3 separate regions of the Homo sapiens genome follow, and regions 1 and 3 are each linked to region 2. The links are contacts of gene promoters, found by promoter capture Hi-C in human tissues and cell types (Jung and others, 2019). All regions are on one chromosome and are shown on one strand. The core of a region is centred on a gene start or on the middle of the fragment in contact, and the rest is flanking DNA. Distances in the headings are between cores, read along the strand shown. Region 1 overlaps ATRN (attractin). Region 2 holds the start of RNF24 (ring finger protein 24). Region 3 overlaps HSPA12B (heat shock protein family A (Hsp70) member 12B).

Region 1 (3,117 bases), core at 59-2,558, 430 kb before region 2:
CAAGAAAGGACACCTAGCCTAACCCTTAGGACAGAGGCTGGCTGGTAGAAAGCTGGAAGGAGGTGACCCCTGCAGGTGAGAAGGAGTGAATTAGGATGTCGAAGACGGAAGGGCTTTCTGTGATTTAATTAGTGCCCCCATCTGTGAGATGTAGAGGGAGATGATTAAGGGAGTGGCTCTTTGAGTGAGCTGCAGGTAAGTTTGCATGGTTGGCTGCAGGCTGGATGGGAGGGGATTTTTATAGTTGAGCCTCAGGAAGGAACCAAGGCCAGACCCTGCGAGGCCATGGCTACAATAGTAATGGATTTGAATTGTATCGTGAAGGCAAAGAAATTATTGAAGGGCCTTTAAAAAGTATTTTTAATTGTCTTTCTTTCTTTTGGATCTGTTTATTTTTAGGTCTTTTAGTAGGCATGTGTATTTTTTCCTCTCAAAAATGGAAATAGGCTGGGTGTGGTGGCTCCTGCCTGTAATCCCAGCATTTTGGGAGGCCAGTGAGGGAGGATTGCTTGAGCCCAGGAGTTCAAGACTAGCCTGGGCAACACAGGGAGACCTCGTCTCTACAAAGGAAGTTTTTTTAAAGAATTAGCCGGGCATGATGGTGGCACATACTTGTAGTTCCGGCTACTTGGGAGGCTGAGGCAAGAGGGTTGCTTGAGCCCAGGGGTTTGAGGCTGTAGTGAGCCATGATCATGTCCCTGCACTCCAGCATGGGCAACAGAGCGAGACCCTGTCTCAAAAGAAAGCAAAGGGAGGGAAATACAGTATATCTTTTGTTTTATAACTACCAAAATTAGGAATACTTACCATTTCTTGGCTAAACTTTATATTTTGATTTTTAAAACTTGTTAAAAATTGCAATGAGAAGGAAATTTCAGGAGAGCAGAAGACAGACTGTCCCAGGTGTCACTGTCCTATTATTCCCTATAAAATCCAGTGCCAGGATGGATGAATGGATAAAGCAAATGTGGTATAAGTTGAATATCCCTTATCTAAAATGCTTTGGACGAGGAGTGTTTCGAATTTTAGAATATTTGCATTATACTAACCAGTTAAGCATCCCTAATCTGGAAATCCAAAATGCTCTAGTGAACATTTTCCTTCAGCATCCATCATGTTGGCACTCAAAAAGTTTTAGATTTTGGAGTGTTTTGGATTTCAGATTAGGGATACTCAGCCTGTGTTTGGGGGTAGCCATCTCTTCATATAGACATTTCAGAACTTAAATATTGCTTTGCTATAATTTCTGTGAATTTTTGATATATTATCTTCTCTGAGCTACATTTTTATCCTTTATAAAATGGCCATATTGAAGTGATGATCTATCCTAATCTACCATGGCTGAGTCAAGGGATAAAGAGGTTTTCCTATGTCTGTGGGGTATACTTAACTTGGTGGTTTTTATCTAGAAGCTTGTTTTGGTCAAGATGTTGGTTATATTCAGGCCAGGCATGGTGGCTCATGCCTATAATCTCAACATTTTGGGAGGCCAAGGTGGGAGGATCACTTGAGCTCAGGAGTTTGAAACTAGCCAGGGCAACATGGCAAGACTCCATCTCCAAAATTTAAATTAAAAAAAGATACTATCTGTATTCATAGTTGTGTCTCTTTTGCCTTTAGTCCAAGCTCACCTTAACCCCATGGGTCGGCCTTCGGAAGATCAATGTGTCCTACTGGTGCTGGGAAGATATGTCCCCATTTACAAATAGTTTACTACAGTGGATGCCGTCTGAGCCCAGTGATGCTGGATTCTGTGGAATTTTATCAGAACCCAGTACTCGGGGACTGAAGGCTGCAACCTGCATCAACCCACTCAATGGTAGTGTCTGTGAAAGGCCTGGTAAGTTCACAGGTGAATTAGGTGGTATTCAGAGTTTATTGTGAGAGAAACCATAGGAGGCATAGTTCATTGCTGAGATGTGTGAAGTAGTCATGAAAACAGATGAAGTATTGATTTCAAGCATGCAAAGAAGAGTATAACCCAGATTTCAGAAGCAGAAGGAAATATTCTGGGACCCTGAATAGTTTTAATTATAAGCAAAACTAAAAATAACTAACACTACTCGAAGAAACTGATATTCTAATTAACAATGAGATTGATAGGTTTATTGACCAGAAAAAGTATTGAGAATTGCTCTGAAAAGCAAATTTATTGGTGTTGGCAGAGAAATGCTGTGGAAGAAGAAACAAAAAAGGAAAATAAAAACAAAGAAAAGATTAGTAAAGCAAGCAAGTGACTGCAGGGACAGTGTTCAGAAAGGTAGTGTCAACAGGGAGAAAAATGATGAGAGCAGTTCTGTAAGCGAGGACAGAAGCAACCCAGAACTACGCGAGAGCTGCAGGAGAGTACTGAGCAGACAGACACTCGGAGTAGCTTCCCAGCTTTCAGTCTCTCTGGGCTACATTTTGGCTAACTAAAGGCAGGCCCAGGGGTAGCTGCTGCAGCATGAAGACAACTCAAAATAAGCCTCCTCCTCCTGCAGAGGGACTCACAAGCAGTCGGTGGAATTGTGGATTATTTTGGGAGGCTGGACTCCATTTGCATTGTGTCCAATTTTGGGAAAGTAATTTGTCTGAGGAATTACAGAGGTATAGGAGAGAATTCATAGCATTGTAGATTTCTAAATATTGATTTCTAAACTTCTCTAGGGGAGCTGCCCAGCAGCCTTTCAGAATTCTGAATCCTTTGTTGAACTTAATGAATGCCGTAGACCTTCTTCCCTCCAAAATTGCAAACATGAGATTTTACATATTCAAGTGGATTGTAAAACCCCTAAAGTTCATCCTGGGTCCCCAAATTCTAAGGGGCTTACAGCCCTACTTTTATGGAAAGATTCACTGTTTCCTCATCTTTGTCCTTAATGCTCTTTGAAAAGAAAATTTATTTTTTCCACAAGTGTGTAAATACACTTGACTAAACAGTACTTGATGACTTTTATTGTTTTCTATTTTCTCTCATTTAATTGATTTCATGGCACATTAATGGGTCATCACCCACATTTGAAAAGTCTTGGCTGGGCACAGTGGCTCACGCCTGTAATCCCAGCACTTTAGGAGGCCAAGACGGGTGGATCACAAGGTCAAGATATCAAGACCATCCTGGCTAACATAGTGAAA
Region 2 (2,876 bases), core at 315-2,814:
AACAACTGCAACTCTTCATAACTTTACCAACACAACAAAGTCAGGCAGGCAGTCTGACAGAGTCAACGTTTGTGGGAACCTACAGCGCTTCCTTCTCTCTCTGGAGATGAGGACAATGAAAAAAGGTGTTCTGTTTTCCAGTAGTCCTGTAAGAGGAGCCATTGAGCTGGGCTGTACAACCAGACAACAGAACACAGGAAAATTCACATCAAAGCAAGGGCGCATGCCAGGGTAATATGCAATAAAACCCTCTGCCAAAGCATTAAGGGGAAAAAAAAGCAAGGAGGTAGAGAGAACCTGCTGGACTACCTTCTCATTAACACAGGGAGGCAGAAAGAAACAAAATCTGCCTGTATTCAGGAGCGGAGAAAACTGTGTCCTAGATATATTGGAGTATTCCTATAGACATGTTTATGAGCATTCGGACAAATTATCAATGAACTAAACCCAGAAAGCAGTGTCCTGTACGGTGGAGTATTCCTATGTAGACAGACATGAGAATCTTACCATTAACTAAGCCCAAAAAGGCAAAGTATTCTAGAAACACAGATATATGAGAATTTAGATGCACATTTCCAATGAATAAAACCCACTGGTTTTACAGTGAGAAAAAACTGTTTGAAATAACATCAGGTAAAGAATTGGGTAAAGGTGTGATGAAGTTATATCCCCTCCCCTTTTCCTCATACCCTTTTTGACAATCTCTGATTCTCTCATTTCATAGATGTCCCTTTCACTTGAATGCGCACACACACACACACACACACACACACACACACACACATCATTAGGTCTCCAGAAACAAAGGAGGGTCCTTAATTCTCCGGCCTGTGGAACCACACACGCCCCCTGCCCACAGATGGTGACTTTCATTAATGAGTAAGCCGAGGGAAGAGGTCTCCACCCCGACCACTGCCATGCACACTGTGACAACGGGGCACGAGACAAGCGCCACAAAGAAAGGGGAGGAGTGGACGGGGACCAGGAAAACACTGCCACGCCGCACCCCCCAAGGCGCGCGCCCACCGCCAACGCGGGGGCAGCGTCCTCGCCATCCTCCTCCTAGCCTCCCAGCTCATCCCAGCCGCCTCCCACGCCCGGGGACCCGATGCCAGGGCTTGGGCGAGCAGGACGTGCGGGGGCCCACGCACCTTCCCTCCGTGATCTCCAGGTGACAGCCCCGCTCCGCCCTTTGTGAGGGACTCACCCTCCAGTCCCGGGGCCGCGCCGGACCCTCCTCCGCGTCCCTCCTCAGCCTGGAGACACCGCCTCACCCCTGCACACCGCGCCCGGCCGGCCGAGGCGCCGGGAGAGTGTGTGTGTGTGGGAGGCTGGCGCGGGCCCGCGGTCTCCTCAGCATCCCGAACCCGGAGCGGCTCGGTCCCCCAAACCCCAGCCCGGGGGCGGCGGCCGCGGCGCTCCCGCCCTCGCTCGCTCACTTACTCGGGCGCGCCGGTGGCAGCGGCAGACGTGCGGGACCGTCAGCGCCCTGCGGCGGGCGGCAGGCTGCGGGCGGCGAGCGTCCGTCCGGACAGAGCGCGGCGGAGGTGGCGGCGGCTGACTGCGCCCGGCGGCCCCTCGCGAGGGGCGGGCCCGCCGGGGGAGGGGCGGGCGCCGCGCCTCTCATTCATGCAGCGGGGGCGGGGTGAGGGACCCGGATGCCCGGGCAGTTTCCCCACCCACCTCGGCGGAGGGCTCGGCGGCTTCAGAGTCTGCAGTGCGCAGGCGCGGCGCTCCCTGGCCAGGCCTGGTGCGGCCCTGGCCGCTGGCTCTGTTCCTGGTTAGAACTACGCCAGACAGGCCGGGCGAGGTGGCTCACGCCTGTAATCCCAGCACTTTGGGAGGCTGAGGCGGGCAGATCACGAGGTCAGGAGATCGAGACCATCTTGGCTAACGCGATGAAACCCCGTCTCTACTAAAAATACAAAAAATTAAATTAGCCGGGTGTGGTGGCGGGCGCCTGTAGTCCCAGCTACTTGGGAGGCTGAGGCAGGAGAATCGCCTGAACCTGGGAGGCGGAGCTTGCAGTGAGCCGAGATCGTGCCACTGCACACCAGCCTGGGCGACAGAGCGAGACTCTGTCTCAAAAAAAAAAAAAAAAAACAACTACTCCAGACAGACCTTCTCCATCGACCGTTTAGTATTTTTGCGTGCCCTACAAGCATTTTTAAAAGTGAAAGCATGGGGCCGGGCGCAGTGGCTCACGCCTGTAATCCCAACACTTTGGGAGGCCAAGGCGGGTGGATCACCTGAGGTCAGGAGTTCCAGACCAGCCTGACCAACATAGAGAAACTCTGTCTCTACTAAAAATACAAAATTAGCTGGGTGTGGTGGCTCATGCCTGTAATCCCAGCTACTCGGGAGGCTAAGGCAGGAAAATCTCTTGAACCCGGGGAGCGGAGGTTGCAGTGAGCCAAGATCGCACCATTGCACTCCAGCCTGGGTGACAGAGCAAGACTCCGTCTCACACACAAAAAAATGAAAGATTGGAATGCCACCCCTTTCCTAGCATGCAGATTGACAGTCCCCAGAGACACAAGAATGGTCACGTGGTGCCCATTGGTTTGATGGGGAGATGGTATGCACCGCACCCTCCTCCATCTGCCCCTCCTGCTGCAGCCTCTCAGCTGAGTGCTAGAACCTTGGTGATGGATGAGACCTAGACTCTGCCCAGATAGTGGAGAGAGGTGTGTGCAAGAAACAGTGCATTCCTTTATTTACATCCACTCCTCAACCTCCGGCTCCCATTCTACAGGGCAGGCAATAAATTGACCTCCGATTTTGGGAGGCTGAGCTCTTCCTGCAATACCAAGGCAAGGATCTGGGGAGTCCTCTCTTGTCTTTAGCAGGCAGTGTATTCTGCAGATACTCTCTTG
Region 3 (2,956 bases), core at 369-2,868, 280 kb before region 2:
TTTGGGAGGCTGAGACGGGCGGATCACCTGAGGCCAGGAGTTCGAGACCAGCCTGGCCAATATGGTGAAACCCCGACTCTACTAAAAATACAAAAATTAGCCAGGCATTTTTAGGTGGCATTTTAGGCAAATTAGGTGGCGCATGCCTGTGGCCCCAGCTACTTGGGAGGCTGAGGCAGGATAATCACTTGAACCCAGGAGATGGAGATTGCAGTGAGCTGAGAACTGAGATCACGCCACTGCACTCCAGCCTGGGGGACAGAGTGAGACTCTGCCTCAAAAATAAATAAATAAATAAATAAATAAATAAATAAATAAATAAATAAATATGAAATACATGTTCTGATTCAGCAGGTCTGGGCTGGGGCCTGAGGTTCTGCATTTCTAACAAGCTTCCAGGTGATACCAATGCTGCTGATCCTCAGCCCACACTTTGAGTAACAAAGCTGTTGATGGTTTGAAATATCCTGCCTATAGCCTGGCCCCAGAACTTCATAGACAGGATCGAGCCCCTCCCATCTTAGAAAATAAATATTCTTCCTCACCTCCCTTCAGCTTTAGCGCCCTCCAACTACTGCCCTCACATGTATTCCTGATTTCAGCCAAGCTTTTCAGAAATTCTAGCTCAATATGATTGCGTCACTACACTCCAGCCTGGGCAACAGAGTGAAACTCCATCTTAAGAAAAGAAGTTCTAGCTCATGTCACCTCTTGCTCACTCCTCACCTAAGCTTACCTCCCTTGGGCCACTAAAACAGTGTTTCCAGTCTCATCTGGGGACCTTTTACAGGGATCTAGCTTTACCCATCTCTTGGTACAATCTTCATGAGACCATGAGGCATCTCAGTCTCCTGGGCCGGTATATATTCCTCTGTTCAGCCTTTAAATGTAGGTTCTCCTCGTGACAGAGTGACACCCTATCTCAAAACAAACAAACAACGAAGGCCAGGCACGGTGGCTCATGCCTGTAATCCCAGCACTTTGAGAGGCCGAGGTGGGCGGATCACCTGAGGTCAGGAGTTCGAGAACAGCCTGGCCAACACGGCGAAACCCCGTCTCTACTAAAAATACAAAAATTAGCTGGGCATGGAGGCACTCACCTGTAATCCCAGCTACTGAGGAGGCTGAGGTAGGAGAATGGCTTGAACCTGGGAGGCAGAGGTTGCAGTGAGCCAAGATCGTGCCACTGCATTCCAGCCTGGGCAACAGAGTGAGACCCTGTCTCAGAAAAAAGAAAAGACAAATTGAGTCATGCCCCCACCCCACCCTGCCACCTCAAACCTTTCAAGATTTGCTGTTGCCCTTCATATAAAATCAAATCTGAAATAGGGTGCACAGGCCCTGCCTGCAGGGTAAGCCCAGCCCAGCCCTCTGTCCAGACTTACCATGTCCTCTTCCCACCCCGCATTATCCAACTTTGACCTTCCTAGCACTCAGCAACGCTTGTCATTTCAAAATCACTTGCCTGATTATCTCCTCCATCAGACCGTTGGTTTCTAGGGCAGGGACAGTGTCTCTCTGGGTCACTATCTCCCAGCACCTGGCACAGAGCAGGCACCAGAAAACATTTAGGAGGATCCTGATTCCAAGAAAGTAAAGCCATTTTTTGACACAAGCTGGGAACTGTGGGACTTTAGATGAGATTTAAGGAATTACTGTTAATTTCATTAGACATGAGAATGGTGTTGCGATGACATTGTTTAAAACGTCTTTATCTGTTGGAGAGATGTATTAAAGAGTTCACGGGTGAAACAACATGATGGCTGGGATTTGCTTCAAAGGACTCCAGCCAAAAGTAAACAAATAAAATAAATAAGCATTCAGATGAGGGAACAAAGGGACAAATAAATCCCACTCTGCTTGTCTGTTCCTGTTGACAGCTACAGGGCCTGCAAGGATGTTGGCTGTCCCGGAGATGGGCCTGCAGGGGCTGTACATCGGTAAGAACCCCCACCATTCTGCCCTGACCCATCACCCACTCACCCGAGCAGGCACTGAGACCCACCTACAGGTTGTGCAATGTACCTCTCCCACAGAGCTTCCCAACAGCTCTTCTGTGAGTGAGTGTGTGTGTGTGTGTGCATGTGTGCAGGGCAGGTCTGTGTTTACTGGACCCCCCTGTGTGTGCAGAAAGGGTCTGTGTGCACCGGTCTGTGTATGTGAGTATGTGTGCACACAGGACTGGTCTATTCACAGGACCCTCATGTGTATATGAGTGTGGGCTGAGTGCGTGTGTTTGTGTGTGCCAGAAGGGTCTGTGCACACAGGAGTGTATGCATGTGCGTGTGTTTTGTTCAGGCTCTGTCCACAGGACCCTGTGTGAGTGTGTCAGTGAGTGTGTGTCTCTGCGGGCAGGTCTCTGTGCACGGGATCTGTGTACGGGAGTATAGTCTGCAGGTGGGCATGCATACAGAGAGTTCTGCGTGTGCATGGAGGGTCTGTGTGCACAGGAGTGTTTGAATGTCCATGTGTTTTGTTCAGGCCATGTGCACAGGACCCCGTGTGAGTGCATCAGTGAGTGTGTGTCTCTGCGGGCAGGTCTCTGTGCACAGGATCTGTGTACGGGAGTATAGTCTGCAGGTGGGCACGCATGCAGAGAGTTCTGCGTGTGCATGTGCGTCTGGCCATAGCCTGGTCTGGGAGCAGGCTTGGGTTCTCCGCAGGGGTGGGAGGCCGGAGGCAAGAGGGACACTCCTCAGGAAGTCCATTCACAAAGACCTGGTGGGCTGGGCCCTTCCTTCCTGCCTCCCTTCCCAAGCTCGAGCCACAGCAACTTGGCCTCTCGGGCTGCAGCTGGTGGCAGGGCTGGAGCCTGCCCTGGCTGCCTGAGGAGAGGGAGCCCTTGAAATGTGGCCACTTTTTCCCTGCCCCTCCAGCACCTCAGACTCTGGCCCTGTCCAGGCGCTTCCCAGAGTCCCCCTCATGCCTGGCCCTTCGCCTGTGTTCCCAGGTTACC

Evidence for each region. Contacts are between HindIII fragments. The study calls those that stand out against the background at their distance.
Region 1: a contact is called between a fragment that was not itself captured here and the fragment with the promoter of RNF24 in region 2, in 1 of the 25 tissues and cell types used here (mesenchymal stem cells).
Region 3: a contact is called between a fragment that was not itself captured here and the fragment with the promoter of RNF24 in region 2, in 2 of the 25 tissues and cell types used here (lymphoblastoid cells and spleen).

What each region holds. Positions count from the first base shown.
Region 1 is chr20:3,580,515-3,583,631 of GRCh38, forward strand. ATRN (attractin) reads left to right here. Exons shown (of 29, transcript NM_139321.3): 16 at 1,621-1,840. Among named protein-coding and RNA genes, the nearest start is that of GFRA4, 81 kb to the right of the region's middle. The HindIII fragment of the contact is 8,776 bases long and covers 1-3,117 here.
Region 2 is chr20:4,013,994-4,016,869 of GRCh38, forward strand. It overlaps RNF24 (ring finger protein 24), which reads right to left and starts at 1,565. Exons shown (of 6, transcript NM_001134337.3): 1 at 1,444-1,565. RefSeq lists a silencer at 1,072-1,671 and enhancers at 1,555-2,487, 2,691-2,876. The HindIII fragment of the contact is 8,027 bases long and covers 1-2,876 here.
Region 3 is chr20:3,736,778-3,739,733 of GRCh38, forward strand. HSPA12B (heat shock protein family A (Hsp70) member 12B) reads left to right here. Exons shown (of 13, transcript NM_052970.5): 2 at 1,881-1,940. The coding sequence starts at 1,898. Among named protein-coding and RNA genes, the nearest start is that of HSPA12B, 5.6 kb to the left of the region's middle. The HindIII fragment of the contact is 4,231 bases long and covers 1-2,956 here.